6 separate regions of the Homo sapiens genome follow, and all the other regions are linked to region 5. The links are contacts of gene promoters, found by promoter capture Hi-C in human tissues and cell types (Jung and others, 2019). All regions are on one chromosome and are shown on one strand. The core of a region is centred on a gene start or on the middle of the fragment in contact, and the rest is flanking DNA. Distances in the headings are between cores, read along the strand shown.

What was found. The method cuts DNA at HindIII sites, captures the fragments that hold promoters and counts their contacts. A contact is called where the count stands out against the background at its distance.
Region 1: a contact is called between a fragment that was not itself captured here and the fragment with the promoter of WNT5A in region 5, in 1 of the 25 tissues and cell types used here (IMR-90 fibroblasts).
Region 2: a contact is called between a fragment that was not itself captured here and the fragment with the promoter of WNT5A in region 5, in 2 of the 25 tissues and cell types used here (H1 embryonic stem cells and IMR-90 fibroblasts).
Region 3: a contact is called between a fragment that was not itself captured here and the fragment with the promoter of WNT5A in region 5, in 1 of the 25 tissues and cell types used here (H1 embryonic stem cells).
Region 4: a contact is called between a fragment that was not itself captured here and the fragment with the promoter of WNT5A in region 5, in 1 of the 25 tissues and cell types used here (IMR-90 fibroblasts).
Region 6: a fragment that was not itself captured here is called in contact with the fragment with the promoter of WNT5A in region 5 in 2 of the 25 tissues and cell types used here (H1 embryonic stem cells and mesendoderm cells).

Annotation. Positions count from the first base shown.
Region 1 is chr3:55,065,842-55,069,424 of GRCh38, reverse strand. The region is part of intron 35 of CACNA2D3 (calcium voltage-gated channel auxiliary subunit alpha2delta 3); the gene reads right to left. Among named protein-coding and RNA genes, the nearest start is that of LINC02017, 110 kb to the left of the region's middle. The HindIII fragment of the contact is 5,644 bases long and covers 1-3,583 here.
Region 2 is chr3:55,879,169-55,882,836 of GRCh38, reverse strand. The region is part of intron 14 of ERC2 (ELKS/RAB6-interacting/CAST family member 2); the gene reads left to right. Among named protein-coding and RNA genes, the nearest start is that of MIR3938, 28 kb to the right of the region's middle. The HindIII fragment of the contact is 7,322 bases long and covers 1-3,668 here.
Region 3 is chr3:55,818,068-55,821,483 of GRCh38, reverse strand. The region is part of intron 14 of ERC2 (ELKS/RAB6-interacting/CAST family member 2); the gene reads left to right. Among named protein-coding and RNA genes, the nearest start is that of MIR3938, 33 kb to the left of the region's middle. The HindIII fragment of the contact is 3,158 bases long and covers 199-3,356 here.
Region 4 is chr3:55,180,024-55,183,857 of GRCh38, reverse strand. The region is part of intron 1 of LINC02017 (long intergenic non-protein coding RNA 2017); the gene reads right to left. The region is part of intron 2 of LOC124906243 (a long non-coding RNA gene); the gene reads left to right. Among named protein-coding and RNA genes, the nearest start is that of LINC02017, 3.8 kb to the right of the region's middle. The HindIII fragment of the contact is 6,692 bases long and covers 1-3,834 here.
Region 5 is chr3:55,485,278-55,488,908 of GRCh38, reverse strand. WNT5A (Wnt family member 5A) reads left to right here and starts at 1,603. Exons shown (of 5, transcript NM_003392.7): 1 at 1,603-1,929. The coding sequence starts at 1,924. It overlaps WNT5A-AS1 (WNT5A antisense RNA 1), which reads right to left and starts at 1,291. Exons shown (of 2, transcript NR_046656.1): 1 at 1,030-1,291; 2 at 601-919. The HindIII fragment of the contact is 9,126 bases long and covers 1-3,631 here.
Region 6 is chr3:55,790,372-55,794,323 of GRCh38, reverse strand. The region is part of intron 14 of ERC2 (ELKS/RAB6-interacting/CAST family member 2); the gene reads left to right. Among named protein-coding and RNA genes, the nearest start is that of MIR3938, 60 kb to the left of the region's middle. The HindIII fragment of the contact is 5,182 bases long and covers 1-3,952 here.

The DNA of each region.
Region 1 (3,583 bases), core at 197-2,696, 420 kb after region 5:
TACTGAGGAACATAAAAATACTAGCTAAAAATTGGAGGGAAGTACAATGGTGGTGGAAAGGAACACTCATATTTTAAATATGTCATTTCTCTCTTAATTAACTTTTTAATTCAAAGCAATTTCAATAAAAATAGGATATTTTATGGAATTTGAGAACATGATTCTAGGATTCTTTCAGAAGAGTAAATATAGAGAATAGTCTGGACAATCATAAAAGATTGGGTTTTATAAAAAAGGGAAGGGCAGTTGCTTGCCATATCCAGCATCGAAACTCGTGAGACAATTCATAGAAGAGGAAACACAGATGAGTAACAAATAGGTAAAAGCGGGTTCAATCTCACTAAAAATTAGAGAAGTATAAGTGAAAATAATGATTTGACTAGGACATGGGTAAAAATTTAAGTCTATGATAATATCAAATAATGGAGAAAGTCTGAAGAAATGAATACTCTTCTATACCACAGGTGGGAAAGTGAAACTTATAGCTACTATGAGGACAATTTGTTATTATTATAGTGGAAATCTTTTACACCCTATTTCTCTGTAGTTTTACTTCTCAGTAAAGTAAACTCATGTTCAGAACCCAAGAAGTCATGTACAAAGATGCTCTTGGTAGCAACGTTCACTGTAAGAAAGAAAAAGCAAAAACCCCACCTAAATGTCCAACAATGGGGCAATGATTGAATAAGCAAGAATATGTCCACTCGGTGGTCTTCTTGGCACCAGGTGACAGGGTGAAGAGGATCTCTATTTACTGTCATGAAAGGAGACCCAAGACGTTGAGTGGGAAAATAATGTTGTAAAACTATACGTAAAGTACCAGTATTTAAGAATATTTAGGACTATTTAAGAATATTTAATTCTGCTACAGAGAAACAAGAAAAATAAATGAGATGGATAAAACTTATAAGATGTATTAGGTATAGATAGCACTTAAGTGACCCATGACTCATGTTAGACTAGAGTAAATGGACTCAATAAGTAGAGCGTATGCAAGTTGAACAGAAATAGTAAAGGAAGAACATATGAAGTGTCTTCCTATAGAGAAGAAGGAAGGGAAGGACCACGTAAAATTAAATGCGCTCAATTCTTAAGGCACAGACCTTGTTGTCTCTAGGTTGATGATAGCTCTCTCCTGGCTCATCCTTAAATTAACTCACTGGCAACATCCATTCTCTGCCTGAGACACACAGATAAATGTGTGGCTGCTCAGGAGGTTACAGGCAAGCTACACACTTGCCCTTGCACCTCTCCAATAAGGCAAGTGTGTGCTGGCTGCAGGCACCTTCTGCCTGCTTAGGCCCTGTTCCAGACTGAGGACCCTCAAGTGTGGTCCTCCTCGCTACACCATCAGTGGGAGACAGAGCAGGAGAGGGTGGAGACAAGGGAAGGGAAAGGAAGGGAAGATGGGAGAGAGAAGAGGAGAATAGAGGAACAGTGCATAACACAGGTTACAGGGAGGGAGATCCTCCGTCCTCTTTCCCCTTGCTTCTAGCCATATGCTTTAAATGAATTCAATCAGCCAAGTGATTTGAGCATCTTAATTTCTTGGTAAGGCTTTTTGTTTTGTAACCTCTAGGATTACTTGCCTGGTAAGTAGTTGGCATTTATACATAAAGTGAGTACAAAAAAAAGACACATTTCTATAAATTCTTTATATATCTATCGCTCTGTCTTTATGTATGTATGTATGTATGTATGTATGTATCTAATGCATGGATGTATAAATAAAGGTCAGGAAGGTTACACACCACACCAGCAACAGTGGTTACCTCTGAAGAAAGGACTGTGACAGGGAGTAACTGTCAAGGGACACTTGAACTCCATCTGTAACCCTGAAGTTCTCTACAAGGAGAATGTATTAATGTCTTCTTAAAACAAGTATAAAGTGAACTGTGAGGGTCAAGCCCATTTTACAAAAGAGAAAACTGAAACTCAACGAGGATAAGTAAACTCTTACCACAGCTATATGAATAAGATAAAATTATGCCCATTTTACAGATAGGGAAACAAAAAACTAAGTACCTAGAGTAACCGGGGCAGAGCAGAGGTTCAAACCCAAAGTTGCAGCCCTCCGGAGCCCAGGCTAGTGTGGTTCTTTTGCCACAGGCAGCAGACTGTCTGTCTCGTGCTGGAACGATTAGAGCTCAAACTCCTTGAGGACAGACCCAGAGTGATCACTCAGTGCAGATGCTTAATGACAGCAAATGCAAGATAGCATTGTTTTCAAAGTCCCACAGCCAACTTTCCTTCTTTCTTTCCCAAATCCTAGGAGTTGAAAAGCCCTGAAAGCAGCTACACTGAGAGGAGAAAAGCCCCCCCCGCTACAAAAGATTGCCAGCGGAAAGATTAACTACTTTTCCATATTTTAAAGACTTACTGTCTGCTTATTAACATGGTGCTTCGGAGGGGCCTGGGCAATGTTAGCTGTACATTTATGTGTACAATGTGTATTTATGGCCCAGGGTGCAGGGTTGAACTTCATAAAACACACCTCCATCCAGCTGGGCCCAGCAGCCAGGCTGACATCATAGTCAGAGGGGCTGTGGCCTGGTGGGTTTGCCTGGGGGCCAAAAAAGGCGAGGAGGGAAATGCCTCAGCAGAGAATCACAGCGGTTGTTTCTAAGCAGGGATAGGTCAAAATGCGTGAAATAAATTAGGTCCTCGAGGGAAAGGGAGTTGGGAGAGGGAAGCAATTTTGATGTGTCCATTGCCAGAACTGAAATAATCCAGTCCTCCCTTTCCCACTCACTACAGACAGAGGAAGAACTGGAGGGAAAAAGATGATGCGATTTCAAGACAGCCTCCCGTGACAAGACAGAGTATTTGCCGCACACTATCTTCCGAGAGGGGCTTTCCTGAGCAAATGATGAAAGCGATCACCATGCCTCCCTCATACTCCCTCCAAACAAGCACGCGGGATGGGGAGGAACGCAGGGATAAGATCCCCCGAGGACCACAGGATTGCACATGTGGAGAGCTTGTTTGGCTTGCCTTTCATTAAATGGGTACAAAACTGTAGCTTGAAAAATATTTGGTCAGGATAGAATCTTAAAACGTTTTGACCCTAGACTGAGGTATTTCACCCTTTATAGATTTTTACCCTTTATATAGATTCTCCAGATTTTATCCAAAGATAAAATGAAAGCCAATGAGTCGGTCCCAGGGAGCTACTGAATTTGGCACTGGCCCTGTTCACAGTGTCCTGTTCCCCGGCTGGATGGAGCACGTGACTGTGGCTCTCCACCAGGATCCTGTTCTCCTTGGAGGTGGAAAGTGGCCCTATCCCCCACCTGCCCTGCCCCAGCAAGCACCAGGTTTCCCTACATGGACCTGGGCCCATAAGTTGAGAGCAAACATTTGGTGACTGTTTAAATTAAAAGGAAAGCTTAATTATTTTGTATGTGTTCTAGCATAACTGGATAGCCATCTTATGAGACAGTAGGAGGGAGGTGGACAGGAAGAGAAATACACAAATATTTTCTCCTTATGATTATTGATGCAATGATCTCAAATGAAATGTAGTAACTAAACTTCAGCAGGACATTGAAAAAGCAACATAGCATGCCACAGTGAGGATTGG
Region 2 (3,668 bases), core at 700-3,199, 390 kb before region 5:
CTGAGGCCAACTTGATTCAAAAGGAGAGCCTTGATTCTATAGTCATCCCTTGGTATCTGTGGGTGATTGGTTCTAGGGCCTCCTTTAGATACCAAAATCCACAGATGCTGAAGTCCCTGATATAAAATGGCATAGTATTTGCATATAACCCACGCACATCCTCCTGTATGCTTTAAATCATCTCCTGCCTTCTTATACCTAATACAATGTAGATGCTATGAAAATAGTTGTTACATTTGTATTGTTTAGGAAATAATAGCAAGAAAAAAAGTCTGTACATGTTCAGTGCAAATGCATTTTTTCCAAAAATATTTCTGATCCGTGGTTGATTGAATCCACAAATGTGGAACCTATGTATACAGAAGTCCAATTGTATACATGTGTATGATTATTTCCCTCAACATTCCTGGCTTAGTCCATTTAGTGTTGCTATAAAGGAATACTGAAGCTAGGTAATTTATAAAGAAAAATGGTTCATTTGGCTCATGGTTCTGCAGGCTGTACAAGGAGCTTGGTGCCAGCATCTGCTTCTGGTGAGGGCCTCAGGCTGCTTCCACTTACGGCAGAAGGGAAAGGAAAGCTGTATGTGCAGAGATCACATGGGGAGAGAGGAAGCAAGGTGGAGATGAGGGAAAGAGCCATGCTCTTTTTAACAATCAGCTCTTTCAGGGAAACTAGCAGAGTGAGAACTCACTCACCCCCAAGGGAGAGGGCATTAATCTATTCAAGGGATTCACCCCACAACCCAAACACCGTTTTCCCATTAGGCCCCACCTGGGATCAAATTTCAATAGGAGTTTTGGAGGGGACAAATATTCAAACCACAGCAATACCCTTCTTCAGTCTGGTCTTTATTGGTTGATATTCTAACTGCCAGTTATTATTCCTCTGCTGGAAGAAACTAACAGTTACCAACCATATATTTTCATAGTACATAATATTCACCTTTCCTTGTGTATAAGATTATTCTTGTACTTAAAATATATCCAAAACTTCTTGCTAAAACATTTCATAATTGTTCAATTTTGTTACATTTACTCCTATTTTAAAGGAATTTTATTAAAAGCATATTAAGAACATCATTTTATGTTTGATTTTATTAATGCCAGCTAATAAGCTTACATTCCAGTAACAAAAGCCCAGTTATTTAATTTATGGCAGGTGGAGTTGAAATCTGTGGCTAAAAGAAATTGAGGGCCATGAGATACAGTACTTAAAAATCTGTGTGCATTTGCTTTGACGATTTAAACTACTATAGTAGTTTAATAGGTAGACAGGCATCCTAATTGATATTTTTCATTTAGTATAAAATGCTAAGTTGAATAAGGGTTTTGATACCTGCTTAATAGTCACATATTTTGAAATGTTTATTTTAGACTTTCTGTGGTGATTTCCTATGCTTATACAAACATTTTCAGCAGGCCCCTTTGTTTTTAACTCATCTGACGATATGGTGCAATTCATCTTAATTTACTGGGTATTGTTGGGTTTTAGACGTCTTCTCCAGATAGCCTCACAAGTCTTTGTATACACTGGATTATTTTAGGACATTTACAGTGAGGTAAGACAGCAGCTTATTCGAGGGCATTATCCTGTTGGCCTCTTTGATCTAAGATCCTTTCTGAGAGAGCCACTCATTAGGTAAGTACCCTTCAAAGGAGAGCAAGGGTGCAGAAATGATAAAATCAATTTATTTTTTACTTCATGCCAACATGAGAAAAGACAAATCACATTTCTTTAGGAAGGAATCCTAAGTGCCTAGCAATTTGGACAGGATAAATGGAGTTTGGGAGAAGAGTTTTGAAGCCAATTGTTACTTAAAATTGATAAACTCAATAAACAAGAGGGTTGTGCTAGCCCACAGAGATCTTATGGGGATTGACTGAGATTATAAATTCATGAGAAAGTGATTTTTAACCCACAAAAGGCTATACATATATTAGTATGTTAGGTACATTCATTACAGTTAGCATACACTAATCCTGTCTTTAATTTACAACTTGGCCTTCTCCATTCAAGAATTTCTTTTTTTTCTTTTTTTTTTTTGCTATAATACTATTCTTTCTTTAACCAGTAGTTTATTGAGAAAAACTTTAACATGTCCAATTTTAAAAATATTAAATACTATGGTAATGTGTCCTAGAATGTCCTGTTTGTCATCTGTTTCTGTTTACTACCTGCTCAGTTCCAACAGGTATTTAAATCAGCTAGAACACTGATAAAGCCTATTGCAGCTTTCTGAGTTACCTGTAGTGAGTCAGGACAGGTAGCAGAGAGGGAAGGAATAAATGTCACAAAAAATGACTCATTCAAAACCAATTTTGGTTTTAGCTGCAGGCAGTGACATAAATGCACAGTTGCTTACTACTCCAGATTTCTGTTTCCTTCTTTTAACTCTGAAGTTGATGGCTTATAGTCTATAGCAAAAACAAAACAAAACAACAAAAAAACTATGCTGAACATAAAACTTATAGTGGGTAAGTAAAACTTAACTATAAAGAAAATAACTTTAGAATAGAGGAATGTTCTAGTTAGCTTCAAATGCAAGAATCAGAAAACCCCACATTCCAGAAGCTCATACAAGTAGCTTTGTAATCACTAGGGACTCACGTTCCTTCTGTCTTGACATTTTGCCATTTTTAGCATTTGCTTGCACCTCTTAGTGTGAGACTTTTGCTTCAGTTCCAGCTATCCAATCCCTATTCCAACCAGCAGAAAGGAGGCACGAGAAAGAAACCTCCCTGTCCTTTAAGTTACACATCCCATCCATTGACATCTGAGTCATTTCACAGTTTATTCAATATTTGCTGAGCATCTGCTATGTGCAAGCACTGTTCTAAGCCCTAGGCAGTTATCTAAGCCCTGTTCTTAGTGAACAGAAAGGACTCTATGAACAAAAATCCTCCTGTTGGTGGAGCTTATATTTTACTAGATGTGAGAACAAGTGTGGGGGAAGGGGCCCACTGGCCAGGGTTTTAAGCCACATGGTCATACTTAGCTTCAAGACCAAGCAGGGAAATATAGCCTTTAGCTGCATTCTGGGAATCCAGTTCTAAGGAAGGAAAGGAAAGAATGGATATTGGGGGCAATTGGCAGTCTCTGACAACATGAATAAAGTGTGAAGAAAAATAGGTCAACTGGTATGTTATGTCACTTAGCAGTAAAAAACAACTTTGCAATTACACCTCTAGTCTATTCCTAACAGACATGTATGTGTATGCATGTATGTTTAGTGCATATCTGAGTTCATTTCTGGGTACCATGGTTGGTAGACTGTGAGGAGGCATGTAGTGAGTGAACAAGTTGAGGTATTCCTGAAAATCTCTTTGTGCTGGGGATAGCTGACCTATAAGGGGTATTAGGTCCAGAGAAGTCCAAGAAGACAGATGCTTCTTTTAACTGTTAAGGAAGTGACTGTAAGAAGAAAACTGGGCTTGATTCATGCTGCCTCAGATGACTGTGCTAGAGTTGGTAGGCAAAATTTGAGAGGAGGAAGATTTTTCTTTTAGTGCAAAAGAACTCTGTAGCAGCAGGAACACTCTCACCTGTTTTGCATGCTGCAGAGGAAATTTTCATCCCAAGTGAAAGGCAAAGGCAATCTCCAAGACCCTCCTGTATGTAATTCCACTAAATAAATGCCCTGTCACGTAGATGAAACTTAGGAAATG
Region 3 (3,416 bases), core at 528-3,027, 330 kb before region 5:
AAAATGATAAAATATAGGTGGTTGGTCAGTAAGGGAATGGGGCAGTGGAATTTGTCTTAGTAGCACTCAGCCCCTTCACATCTAGCGATTCTCATCAAGCTCATTTCCACGTGTTTGATGGGTTTCCCAGAACTCAAGTGCTCAGAATTAGCCCCTCTACAGACCACAGTGGCCGGCGAGCCAGAGATGGGGTCATTTTGGTTTTCAGATTTTAACATGGGGAATAACTTTTGGCAGTCCTATTGCACACCTATTCTTGTTAAAGCAAGCAATCATCTGGAGGAACAGTAGGGTTTCTCCTCCACATTCATCAGTCTAATCTCACTGTTCAGTTGATGTGGTTTCTCCTCTCCCCCTCATAAAAGGATTCATTTTCAGAAGAAAAACTCATTTTGAAGGTTTCTTTTTTTTACCCCTTCTTCACACGCTCTAGCACCCTTCATACCTGTCTCTTTTCCTCATTCTGTTTCCTTCCTTCTTCTCTTGCTCTCTCCCATTTTTCTTCCCAACACTGAACAAGCAGCCAAGGAAACCTTCAAGTTATAAAACATTAGCCTGACACTGGGGCTAAGAAGGCTGTCTCCCTCTCCGTTACACTTATGCCAGCGCAGTAGCTTGGCCCAGGGCTCACTAAATGTTCCTTGAGTGATCAGATGGTTGAACAAATGAATGAAGCAATTAATGATTTTGTATAGATGCATCCTGCAGAGCAAGCCTCAACTCCCTGATTCCATCTTCTTGTTTGAACATTTTCTCACCCAGAGTAGTGACCTATCTGGTGCCCTGCCCGGCTTGGAGATCTGGCTCCACTACTTACTCGCTGTGTAACCTTGGGTATGCTACCTGATCTCCCTGTGCCTCAATTTATCTTCTTTAAAATGGGTAGAGCGAGTCTTTAAAGCAGTCTGTTAAGAGCATCGGTTGAATACACACACGCTTTCAGAATAAGGTCAGACACCATAAGTGCTCAGTAAGTGTTGTTATTAAAATTTTGAATATTATAACTAAGTTTATGAGCTCACGTGAGTTGATTTCTGTGACAACACTTTAAGTGTAAGGCTTATGGCAAAGTTAATAATAATTTATTTTCACTGAGTTGCTTTGCTTTTTTTGTTCTACAAAATGTTAATTCTGTAGTTCTGGTCCACTCCCGTTCTGAGCTAGTTTTTCTTGCATTACTCAATGTCATCAGGCCAAAGTATTTACTCCCTTATGCCTCAGAGAGTCTGCCTGAGGTCCTTGTTTCTCAATGCTGTTTTGTGGCTCCACTCTCTTTTATGGATGTGAAGAACCAGAAGGAACTCCTAACCCCACCCTCCATGTGGGGCTCCACTTCTAGACCCCACGTGGACACCTGACACTTACTCCTGAATGCTCAGCATCCCATTTCATGGAGCTTATTCTCCAGACAGCAGTCTGCAATGGGCATTCTGCTAGACCCCTTTAGGAACAACCTCATGGGCACAATTATCCACTTGCCCCCTCAAAGTGAGGTGAAATTGCTAATTACACCTGCAAGAGGCTAATTGGGAACCCCCCTCCATTGCACGCAGCCAAAATGCACCTGCAAGTAATTAACTTCAGATGCCCAAATTGTACCCACAAGAAAGGAGAGGAAGCCCAGGCTGAGACCCCAGCCTCTCTGAAAAGGTTCATGTTTCCCAGGTTTGAGTTGGACCCTTTGGACATCAAACGGGGCAGAGAAGGCTTCTGTGCATGGCCATGGAGTCTGGTGCAGCATTCCAAAGCGGCACTTGTCTCTGCCGTCCTAATATCATCATTGTCTAATAGATGCTATCCCACAAGTGGGAGAACAAAAATGGGCTCCAGAGCCTTTCCTTTCTTTTCTCTCTGTGTGTGGTAGAGAATTTCCACTCACCACATGTCCCTCTATTATATCTTTATGGAATCTGCCAAAATAAATAGTGTAGTTCCTTTATTTTTAGTTGGTATTGCACAGGTTCTTCTCAGATTAAGCAGTCAAAGGTCAGGAAAGTTGAGATGAACCATAGTTTTAAAACCATTGTACTGCATAAAGTTATTTATAGAGGAGTTTTCATGTATAGACTTGATTAAAAGCTGAGGATATTTGCTCAACAGAAAGGCGAAAAACCATCATTATCTGATTTTACATGGAATTCAGTGGCTGCTAATCAAACCCTGGCCTGCATCTGGTTAAGACATACTTGGCACTGGCTTGTCACAAGTCGAGGTTTTGCCATGTCAAGGGATCTTTCACTCAAAGCGGTGACCCATATTGGACTGAACAAACACACGAGTTTTTAATCGAGAACAATAGTTTAACAAACCACTTCCCAGGACCATTGAAAGAAAAGTATGTGCCCATGGCATTTCTGGCACCAAAAGATGTTTATTTGAATGCATTTACTTTAAACCATAGCCGAAAATGCCCAGCAGAGAAGGACCATTAAGAGCTAGTGCAGAAAAATGAATTTCTATGGAGTGACCCACACTAGCTTGCACCAGTGCCAGCCAATCTTGCAAGGTACTCTGGTATCTGTAAAAGCTTGTTCCTTCCTATGTGCCCAAGTAGACATAAAGATACTTGTGGACTTGCGGAAACAAGTTATATACATTAACTCTGAAATGCTTTCCATTAGAAAATATTAAACGTATTCCTTCTCTGAATCCATTAGAAGTTTCTTTGCTGAATTGTTGCCAGTGAATCTATGTAGTGAGTTTGGAGGCACTTTAAAAATAAGAAGCATTTCTAACAATTGGTGAATGCTAGGCATTGTGCTAAGTGCTTCAGCTGCCTTGTCACATTGCACACACGTAGCACCCCTCTGTGGTTGGTGGTGTCAATGCCTCCATCTTGCAGAAGTGGAGAACAAAGTCAAGATAGTTAGGTCACTTGCTAAGTATCCCAGCTTGCAAGTAGCCAGTGAGAGTTCACACCTAGATTCATCTGAGCAGAAGGTCAGCTTCTGTGTTTCTGTTTTTCTTTTGAAAGAAGAAACATTCTTATACTGTTGTACTGTGTGTTTCATAGAAATCTTATCAGTGTAATAGCATTTGATAATTGCTGAATATTTGATCTGGAGTGAGATATACATTGATATCATTCATCGAGGTATAAAAGTTAGTAGTACTGTACTGTTTTTTAATTCTGACTTTTAGGATTTATTGACTATTTCAGACTCCTACTCTATTCTGATGAAATGAGAGGCACTTCACTATGCTTTTACCCAGGGCAGGGACTAGGCTGATTTGGCTGTGAGGCCCCAGCTCTGAGTGTGGAGCTTGGCACACAGAATCCGTGTTGCATAAATGTCACCATAATGTATTGAAACATTCAGGGTATGGTCTCCTTCCAGGACAGCTCTGGAAGGTCTTGGCTGTTTTGCCAAAAGAAAGGAGGAATTTCACTTGACAGTCCCATCGTTCAGACCTTA
Region 4 (3,834 bases), core at 1,214-3,713, 310 kb after region 5:
CAAGAATTTAAAACTACGCACACACAATGCAAGAGGCTGGCAGGAGTCCTTTGTAATAGTGTGCGTGTGTGTGTGTGTGTGTGTGTGAAAGAGTTGGATCAAATGAGTGGTGTCCTGTTCAGAGCAGGACATAAGTTTCATTCCATGAAAGGAAACATAATTAATTCCACTTCCATCAGCACATCAAGAGGATGATTGGTAACTCACCTCCTACCAGCCCTGGCTGCAAGGGAGAGGTAGCCCAAGGGAAGTGACCCTTTATTGGGCCTGTGCTGGTCTCTGGCTGGCCAGGGAAAGCACACACCTCCACACTCCCAGACCCCTCCACATCCCCCTGGAGCCTGTCAATGTTTTAGTTCTGTCCTTTTTCCACTCTTGGGAGGACAACAATGTGTCTCCAGGTCCTGCAGTCTGGGTTTGATTAAATAATTATAAACTCCCAGCAGCAGGTCTATCATTTATGTCCTGAAACATGCCAGCATGTGTCTTTTGTGGCCATGCCAGCCAATCATAAAGTCACTCTCCTTATTGTCACTAAGAACACAGTGGTTCAATGTTTGTGCTTGTTCCTGGATTTTGGCTATAGAATGTTGCCCAGCAGTTTGCTGCTGGTGCCAACATCACTACAGAACTTCATAATAAATCCTTTCTATATTTATTCAGTCCAGTGTTCTGACACTGAAATTGCCTTTTATGAGCATATGATCAGAGGCTTCCATTTTCCACTTCTAACTCGGGGCGATTATATGTTCTAACAGAAAAGACCTCAAGGCTTGTTGTCCATACATGCAGCATGGCATGGGGACTGCCAACTGGCTGGGGGAAAGTAGGAGATTGGAAGTGCGTGAGAGCTGACCTTTTACCCCACGCAAAGGAAGCACAGAGATGATCTCTTTAATCCATTTGGTTAAAATGTTTAAAATTTTCCACTTCCTCCACAACTAAAGCCCAAAATAAAGTTGCCCAAGCAAGGCAGTAATATTTCATAGTAACATGCCATCTCCTACAAAAGGGCAAGGGGAGAAGGGGGAGGTAGGGATACCATTTAATTGAGTTCAAGAAACTTTTAAAGAAATGTTTTTCATTCTTGCCTTAACTGAGTCACAGGTGATCTCTAAATGGCTCCAATGTTAAGTATATCATATCAACCAAAACTAGGAAAGCGACTGAAATACCTGAATGGGAAGCCTTTTTCTATTTTTTATGTATATGAAAAATCTCACAATAATTCACATGGCCAGAATGACCTTCTACTAATGACAATTTAAGAAGAGGTCTCTAGAAATTACGATGTATAAAAATTTAGCAATGAAACACAGCCATGTTTTGGAAAGAGAAAGATGTGTTCTTTTTTGTTTTGCATAGTTCTGTACAGGTTCAGAAAAATATGAGTACACATGGCCTATATGTGTTTTCATTTTTGAAAAACGATCAAAGCCACTCATTTATTGAAAGGAATACAATACACAAAAAGAGATAACAAGGCTTAGTGAAAATAAACTGCATAAACTGGAGGAAGAGTACTGGAATAACAAAATAAAACCCATCAGTCGTTCATTTTTCATCACTGTCTTTCGTTTGCATTTACATTTCCTGAAATGCCATGGCATCGTATCAGTCTGCAGATGAAATGTGAATCTCGAAAGAAGAGTTACTTTATACAAAGGTGGAATCGGTTGAAGGTTGCATGTTTTGTTTTTACTGCATCCTTTAAAAGGATCATTAAAATGTTTCTGCTCAATGCAGATAGCAATAATTATCATTACAGGAAAGGCTTCAGATATTACATTTCACTTTTAAGAAAATGGGTTTTAGAATAAATATTAAATATATTTAAAATATATACAGTTTGACATTATTTTTCAAAATAAAAATATCTTATATTTTCAAAAACTGTAAGTTGAGATTTTGTTGCTTTGTTTTTAAGATTTGAGAACTAACTTCTTTCAGTATTATAATTCCTGGTGACATCACATTTACCCCAACAGTATTCAAATTATATATGTATTTTTGAAAATGAAGTTATTCAAATAAATTATTTTCAAATGTATCAACTTAAAACTATACTACTATTCTAGTGAGACTAACTTAAGTTGGAGACTAACTTTATAATTAATAAAGACATTTCAGTATGAAATGTGTAGTAATATACTGTGACTGCACATTTCTTTTTTTTTTTTTTTTTTTTTTTTTTGAGACGGAGTCTTGCTCTGTCACCCAGGCTGGAGTGTAGTGGCACGATCTTGGCTCACTGCAAGCTCTGCCTCCCGGGTTCACGCCATTCTCCTGCCTCAGCCTCCCAAGTAGCTGGGACCACAGGCGCCCGCCACCATGCCCGGCTAATTTTTTGTAGTTTTAGTAGAGACTGACTGCACATTTCTTTGGGTGAATATTACTGGGGAAAATAGTTAGAAAAAAGAAAACGTTTAAAATAGACCAAGTAGTCAAGAAGATAGAGAAATACAGTTTTTGCCCTCCTTTAGCTTTATATAGGAACTACTTATGCTTGTAAACATGAGAAAGACAAAGAATTCTTAGAGACTAAATGTTTCAAATGTAGAACTTTTAGACATTTGTGAGAAAAGCTGGCTTCTTAAAAAAAGTGCTTTTGACAAACAGTGCTTAAACAGAAATGCAGCCGTGTACAGGACTGTTTTTAGTTAAAAAATTTCAATGTGCCAACCAAAAAGCGATGTAATCGGTAACTGGCCACTAGGGGGCTTTCCTATTGGTCCATTCTTAAAAAGGACAGTAACTAATAATAAACAAACTGCAAAGATGTACTCCAATATTTTCTATCATACACATAGAAATAGCTGATTAGGAAGTGACAAGAGTCTGGCTATCCTATCATCTGGTTATTTAGATAGTATAAAAGTATTGATTAATTTTTTGCTTCTTCACTAAACAGAATTTTTTTAAAAAATCAACTGCTGTTATTTTGGGGTTTGTTTTTAGTTCAATAATGGTTGTTTTATCTGCTTCGCATAATCTTCTTTTGTTTTATTGATTTTCCCCAGAGATGAAAATAATGAACTTAATTTAATCCAACCAGTACATTGATTCAGTCTGTTTACTCAGATTAACCTAAACAGATATGCTAGCTTGTCAGAGCCTATGTTCATCATCTCTTTTGACAACTCTCCAAACTGTGGTCGTGTTGAGATCCAGTGGCACCATGGTGTGGTGTTCGATCAGCAAACCTTTGTTGAGCATTTACTATATACTGGATGCTGTGCTTGGTGCTAGGCTACAGGTGGAAACCAACTTAGTGTCATGGTCCTCACAGAGACGGCAAGGAACAAGATGAGAAAGGAAAGGGGTTTTGAGGAGGTTCCATTTGAGCAGAATCCTGAGTGGTACAAGGGAGAAAGCCATGTGAGTGTGATAGTCCAGAAGGTGGGATTTGGGATTTATTATTAGGAGGCCCGGGGTCAGGTCCCGTCTCCTTTACTCACCAGCTGAGTATGAACTTGGGGAGTTCGTGGACACTCTCTGACTTTGCTGTCTCACCAGGAATGTTAACAGTTCTGGCTCCATTCCCTGCAATTGTGCCTGCACCTCCTCCCTCACCAGATTTTGGGAGGATCAAATGAAGTGAGTGATTTGAGATCACAAATGATTTTTATTGAGTGAATTTTCAACTAGAAAACTTTGATAAACAAGATGCCTTCTTGTCCCCAAGTTTTAAAATATTTAATAATCAATAGCATGAAAAATGTTCCAATACATTAAGTTAACATTGTTTTTGAAAAATATCGTTTTTAATATGAATACATATATGCATAAGAGGGTTAGCCAAAGACATAATCCAAGATAGATATTTCTGGTTAA
Region 5 (3,631 bases), core at 354-2,853:
AGCCCCAGTGCTTAAGTATCCTCCCCCAGAGGTAAGAATGAGGAGGTCCCCCATGAGGTTCCATGTCAAGGCAGCAGTCTCCGTGGAGCCCCAGTGGGAGCGGTCTGGGATACGCGGGCGAGCCAAGGGGTCCAGGCGGGGAAGTTGGGGTTCAGCCTCCCGCCGGTCGGTGGCTCTGGAAGGAGCGCAGACAACCAGGCGGCAGGCAGGCAGCGGCTGCGGAGTGGACCTCTCTCTTTCAGCAGATGCCGCGGGGGATGGGGAACTTAGAGAAGGGGAGACAAGGAGAGTGTACCCCGCCTCCCGGCACCCCAGCCCGTAGTACGGCTTTAAAATCCTGCAGAGTTTGTCATAGGCCGGCCTCACCACGCATGCGCATAGCAAAGTTGAGTTTTTTCTTTCTTCCCCCCCCTTCCCTCTCTCTTTCCAGCCGCCCCTAGTTCTGAAACTTTAAAGAACTTTTTTCTTTCTTTCTTTCTTTCTTTTTTTTTTTTTCTTCCTTCTGAGAACACCAGGGGAAAGAGGAGTCTGGAGAGAGGGAGGGAGAGAGTAAGGCAGTTGGCCAGAAGGGCTGGGGGGTGGGAGGGGGGGACGCGTCCCCGCGGTCGGTCAGTCTGTTTGCGGGGCACAGGATCGCGTGGAAATCTGCTGCGAGCTCCACGGAGCCGCCTCCGCCGCCCAGAGCCGGGGTCCGTGCGGCAGCTGCCCAGCGAGCCCTTCCGCCGCCGCCGTTGTGCCCGGGACCGCCCGCCTCCCGCCGGCCCGCTCTCCCGCCCCTCGGACCCGGGCGCCAAACGAGGAGGTGGGCAGCTTCGCCGGCCATGGACCGCCGGAGCTGAGTCGCCGCCGCGGAGCTCCGAGCTCTCGCCCTTCCCCAGCCTCGCGCCCGCGGTGCACTCGCTGCTCTTCGCCCTTCGCCCTGGAAAAACGGGGAAAAGAGAGATCAACCCGAAGAGAGAAAGAACGGGATACGTGGTGGGGGGGGGGAGCCCGCGTCTCCCCTGGGTTAGTCGCACCCCTCCAGCTCACCGCACAGCAATAAGTTCCGGGGCGACTTTCACCTATTTTGCTCCCCGTTTTTGCCGAACCCTAAAATGAAAGGACACAATTTGGGGCTGACTCTTGCAGCTCAGATGGCGACTTGTGCGTTTTCAGCGGCATCTCCCGGAGAAAAAGCCATGCGCGCCTGATTGTTCTGTGGCCCCAAAGCTGCAGCGGGGGTGTGTGTGTTGGGGTGTGTGTCTGTGTGTGTACAGAGACGTCCACACTAACTCGCGGCTGCAGGATCAGCGTCTGGAAGCAGACGTTTCGGCTACAGACCCAGAGAGGAGGAGCTGGAGATCAGGAGGCGTGAGCCGCCAAGAGTTTGCAGAATCTGTGGTGTGAATGAACTGGGGGCACCTGGGCGCACAGATCGCCCCCCTTCCCCCGCCCCGGGCCACAGTTGAGTAGTGGTACATTTTTTTCACCCTCTTGTGAAGAATTTCTTTTTATTATTATTTGTCGTAAGGTCTTTTGCACAATCACGCCCACATTTGGGGTTGGAAAGCCCTAATTACCGCCGTCGCTGATGGACGTTGGAAACGGAGCGCCTCTCCGTGGAACAGTTGCCTGCGCGCCCTCGCCGGACCGGCGGCTCCCTAGTTGCGCCCCGACCAGGCCCTGCCCTTGCTGCCGGCTCGCGCGCGTCCGCGCCCCCTCCATTCCTGGGCGCATCCCAGCTCTGCCCCAACTCGGGAGTCCAGGCCCGGGCGCCAGTGCCCGCTTCAGCTCCGGTTCACTGCGCCCGCCGGACGCGCGCCGGAGGACTCCGCAGCCCTGCTCCTGACCGTCCCCCCAGGCTTAACCCGGTCGCTCCGCTCGGATTCCTCGGCTGCGCTCGCTCGGGTGGCGACTTCCTCCCCGCGCCCCCTCCCCCTCGCCATGAAGGTAGGTGTTCAGTGCGCTGCCACTTTTTTTCTTTACTTCCCCCCACCCCCTGTTGGAAGTTAACTGAGTTCCCTTCGCCTCTTCCTATCCCTCCATTTCCCCAACCGCCTGAAGAAGCTGGAACTCCAGCGTCGCTGGCAGGAACCCCTACCCCTTCGCCCTCCACGCCGGGCGCACTGCCTCAGTGTCCCAGGAGATCACTTCTGGTCGCACCACCCGTTCTGCAAACAATTTTGATTTTTGAGAAAAAGTGGGGAAGAGCGATAGTAGACAAACTGAGTGCGGTTCACTGACGACTTTCCTTTTGCTCTGAGAACATCGAGTGTAATTTACTATGTATATTTCAGTAACAGGATAATGATTCAATTCAACAAATATTTACCAAGCGCCCACTGCGCGGGCACCGGGACGGTGTGTGGCCGGGGCTCGGGATGGGGAAAGGGACTCCTTGGTTGAGAGAACCCGCAGAGGAACTAGGGGCCAACTACTCCAGAGCGGCGTACACCTTCCCCGACACCCCCCCGCACCGACGGAGGCCAGATTGTAGGCTTGCCTTGGCCGAGTAACTCGAGCGCTTCAGGCCCCTTTGCCTTTAAGAGTGCCTGGCGGGGGGCCAGCGCGCACCCCGGCGCGGGGAGCGGGGTCGCGTTATTAGCATTATTAGCCGCCACTGGGTGAGCTCAGGCACTTTGCAGCAGTGGTGGGGGCGGGGAGTTGTGGTGGTAGTGGCTGTAATCCCGTACTCCGGGACAGCGCTCCCCGGCCCCCTGAGCGGAGTCCGCCTTGTCCTTTAGAAAACACTTGGGCCTCCGCTTTGGGAGAGCAGGCGGGGGCCAGTTTGCGAACTCTTGTTTGTTTTAATTGTCAGTTGTATGTTAAAGCCGAATCACACACTCCGAGGGTCACTGAGAGTTCACTTTTACGAAAAGTTAACGTTTCTTCCTGCAACATAAGTTTTTATTTTCTAAACAATTTTTCTTATCTGTCCTCCAAGCTTCGATTCCTATTTCCATTTTTCTGGTCTTTCCCATTTTAAGTTTCTTAGAAAATAAGGTTAGAATTGAAATTAAGATGTTTCCTGGAAGCAAATAACCCCTCTTCCCCCCAAAAAGTTAAAAAAAACAACAACAAAAAACTTCAAGTCTGGAGACCCCACGGCCCTGTTTGACTTTCTAATCCCTGTCTGGTATCGAGGCCCCTTCTCCTCTCTCGCCTCTCTTTTCTCTCTTCTCTCTTTAAATGGGTAATTCGCTGTTTGGAAGTAACTTGGGCCTTGCGGTGAGGTCGCACCTCCTCAGCCCCTGCCCTCCCCCCAGCCACCTTCGCACATTCACTGCCGAACCAGCCAGATTTAGTTTCTAGACAGACTCTGCCAGGGGAGTTTCGAGGGGGCAATGCGGAGAGTGCGCAGCGAACCGCGGGCCGACAAATGTGTGTGTGTCCGAGTGTGTGGATCCTTGGCTGCGTGTGTGTGCGTGTGTGTTTGTGTGTGTAGGGGAGTTGTTCTCGGGTCCAGGACGTAGTAGCCTTCGTCTCCTCCACCCCCCGACCCTCTCAACGGAAGACCCTCCCCAGGAGGCCCGGCCCAAGAGTCCCCTGTCTTCTCCTCCCCTCCCCCGTGCGCTCCGGTGCTCAAGGGGTTAGCACTATGCGCGCAGAACTCGGAGCCATCCCCGCGGCCTTTTCTTCCCCGCGGTGCGGT
Region 6 (3,952 bases), core at 721-3,220, 310 kb before region 5:
AGAGCAAAAAGGGAAACAGGATAAAAGTTGTATCATTCTTGTTATTAGAAAGGAGGAAACAGATTAGTTTCTAGAGATAAAGATTTTCCTGGCACCAGATAGCAAAAGGAGTTTCTTATGTGTGATTTTCTATAGATAATGGATAATTCCTTTGACAGCCCTTTCCAGCAAATGCAGATGTGGTTTTCATATCACTGTCTCCTACAATGACTCCCAATAAAAGAGGGTGCCATAACATTAAAGTGCAACTCAGAGAAGGGACATTTTGTGAGAGTACTAGTTTTTATTTCCATATTGTGAAAGGTACATGGTTTTGCTTTTAATGCTTATTTTAAAGGTCCAGAAAGAAATTCTAATCTGTGTGCCTATGTTGCAGAGATCTGGCACTATTTCTATATCTAGGCAATTACACAGGGATTTTACTTGAACACATCCAAATTTTTAAAATTTCCACTCACCATCATCTTTTAAATTTCATGAAAGCCTCGAGCTACCATTCAAGTTTTTCTATTGCTCTCTGTCTCTCTTTGTTCATTAGTGATGTACTGAGGTTTTAAGTAACTTGATTAGGTGTAGACGGGGGCCCTAAATAATACGATTTTTCATAGGAAGTGAAGTGTTATCCCTTTTAACAGATTCAGTGTAAATTATTTCTGCTTTATCTAGGCTCTTTTGTTTTTAATTTTAATTTTCTTATTAACAATGCAATCTGCTATTATATTTATATCATCAATATGTCAAAATAACATGAGTTGTGAAATAATCATAACAACTCTTTTTTAAGTCTCCCACTGCCCCTCTAAACTTTAAACAGTGAAAGAAACCTTCCCTATAGCACTGAATAAAAACTTTGCAGAACCAGTATCTTTTCTGCTTACTCTTAGGCAAAAACAGTCCTGCAGTGACTATAAGTCACAGACATTCTGTAATTAGAATGTTCACCTGGCTTTTTTGATCAGCAAATAACCATCAACCTCAACACATTCAAAAGGGGATGTTAATGACTGGTTAAATCTATTTGCTTAGAAGGCTAAACCAGGAGTTCTCACCTTTTTGTGTTTATAGCATTCTTTCAATTTGTATTATTAAAAATATTTGCAGAGTACCTTGAACGAATTAAATTGCATCTACATCAGGAAGCTAAGGCAGGAGAATCCCTTAAACCTGGGAGGCGGAGTTTGCAGTGAGCAGAGATTGCGCTGCACTCCAGCCTAGATGACAGAGGAAGACCCTGTCTCAAAATAAAATAAAATAAAATAAGTAAATAAATTGCATCCACAGTTATCTTAGCACAAATATTGCTATTTGGACCAATCTATATACTCCCCAGGGCTCAGGGTTATAGCATCACCAGGCATGGTTCACCCGTTGTCAGGAAACACAATAATTTCTGCTGGTGCTGACTTGACATTTGTCTTCCCTCTCTCATTTCTTAGTTGCTAAAAATGACACTGTACTCTACACCCAGAATCCACCAGCTCTCTATTCCCTGGAAGACATGGTGGTCCTTAATGGAATAGAGCCTCATTTGTGGCTATTGAAGTGCTGCCAAGGACTTGGTTTCAACTTCTTAGCTTTGGGAAATTCATGCACATTCATTTGTTCTACATTTTGGGAAATAATAAATGGAAAAGTTGTCCGGGATCCAGATTGCATTGAGGTGCTTAATTTTATTCACCTTTCCATTACTATTGTTGGTCATTGCATATTCACCTTCACATTTCATTGCTACATTCCATAGACAACAAATGGAAATCAAAAGGAAGTTCTTTAAACAAATGTTTATTGAAGGCCTATTGTGAACTGAGCACAGGGGCTGGTGATTAGGTGTAAGAAGGGAAGTGATCTGCTCTCTTAATTTTAGCAGAAAAATAAACATTTGTCAACAATAAAATTATATATTAATAAGATAATGGCTTTTAAATGCCTAGCTTTGAGAGCTAGGCACACAGTGACTTTTAAATGCCTAGCTTCGAGAGCTAAACAATACCTTTCTCCACCCTCTGCCTTCTTGCCTGTTCCCATTATTGGAAAGGTTAGGGGTTTCTTTTCTAATTTTTCAGTTTTGCTGAGTTAGCAGTCAGTGCAATTTACCCAGTCTTAACCTCAAAGATTGCAAAGGGGAGCTGGTGAAATATTGCACAAGCCTAGCCTTGGTTTAGCCATGAATTATGCATTGTGTACTTAGACTATTATAGTCTGTTATAGTCTGTTTATCTGTTGACTTCCACCAAGATTTAGGGGTTTGTTGTACTTAATAACTTGCTTTATTTTGTTTGACATGTATTTTATGTCCTCCATGTGCATGAATACATAAGATACACAGTCGTGGGTGAGGGTCTGGAGAGAAAGCCCAGCCTTGAAAGATTAACTTTGAGAACTCTGGAGTAAAAATGTTCACATACTCCTTACTCTTGCAGAGTGCTAATCAATAGGAAGGTGGATCAGATTTTTCCATGTTTTTTCCCCACTAGAATACAAAACAGTTAAATAAAGGGCAGAAAAATGAATCTGGATTCCTTGTATCTCTGAATTTTTGTTCTTAAAGCTGGTCCTTAAATTAAAAAGATGTCAAAAGACATTTAATTCATTCAGTATTGACCACAAATAAGAATTTCACTGTTTTTGACTACACTCTAATTTTTCATTCGAGTCCTATATTCAAAATTGTGCCTGATGGGTTAATATGGATTTTTGCATGTCTTGAAAATAAAAGCAGTTTTATGAAGATTATAAGATTATGAGATGACATTTGATTTTAGCTTGACCTAAAAACATCTCAGACATTTCTCAGCATACATGTGTTTGAGTTTTAGAATTCTGAAGCTGTTAAAGGACAAAAACAAAGTGGAAAAACATAGTAAGATTTTCATATTTAATATAGTTCATTACATGTCTGCTGTTTTATATATATATACTTATATATACACACATACATATCTCCACATACATAGAGATATGTACCTATCTTTTATGTCTGTTTATAGTTAGCAATTATTTCTGGACTTTTAAAAACTTACTTTCTCATTTCCATTCTGTTTTCTTTTTTGGAATTTAAATGATCTTTATCAAAACAGAGATCTCTGCCTCTAAAGGCTCTCCAAGTGGAATTAACTGTTTACCCAGCCCCAATTTTCATTTACTTCCTCTTCCCACCACAAGTGCTTGTGTTATCTAGAACAAAATCTCTTTCCCCATATTTAGTCACAAAGAATTACATGAATGCCTAAAATAAACACTATTTAATTTGTGTAACTCCCTGCAATTTTAAACAGTTCTCCTTGAGTCTCATGATGACCCTGGTTGACAAGAAGAGGAAGCTGAGGCCCAGGTGGGTTACCCACCCCTGCCCAAACTCACACCCATCAGGAATGGAGGATTCCACCTTTTGAAGTGAACTTGGTCTTTTGACTCCAGAGCCGAAGCTCTTTGCTGAGCTCTGTATTGCCTTTGAGTCGAAAACCAGGAATGAAACAAGGGTTCCTTGAATGTTTACCATTCATTCAGTAAACATTTATGTACTATGTGCCAGACATACGGTAGGCATGGCTGCTGTCCACTGATAAATGAAAAGACATTAGTCCCAAGCTTCACTGAATTCACAGTCTGGCTAGGGGATGGGCCATTGTCTGGGTTGGGTTTCCCCAGAAGTTGGCCTTCAGACAAGGATTTGAATACAAGTAGCTTATCTGGAGGTGGGGGATAGTAGGGTTGTTATTCACCCTCCATTTTCCTTCCGCTGTTATCTGAGGGATGCTCTTAGGAGCATTAACTTCTGGTGCTCCTGGCCTGTATGTGCAGGGCATGCCAAGAAGAAGCCCACAAGTAGAATTGCTGGTGTCAACGGTAGGACTCTGTTGACAAGTTCTGTGCTATTGAGTGCTGACGGGATGAGGGTGAGGCACTGGCCAGGGCTGCTAAAGCAGGGAATGAGATCTTAACTATGATTACT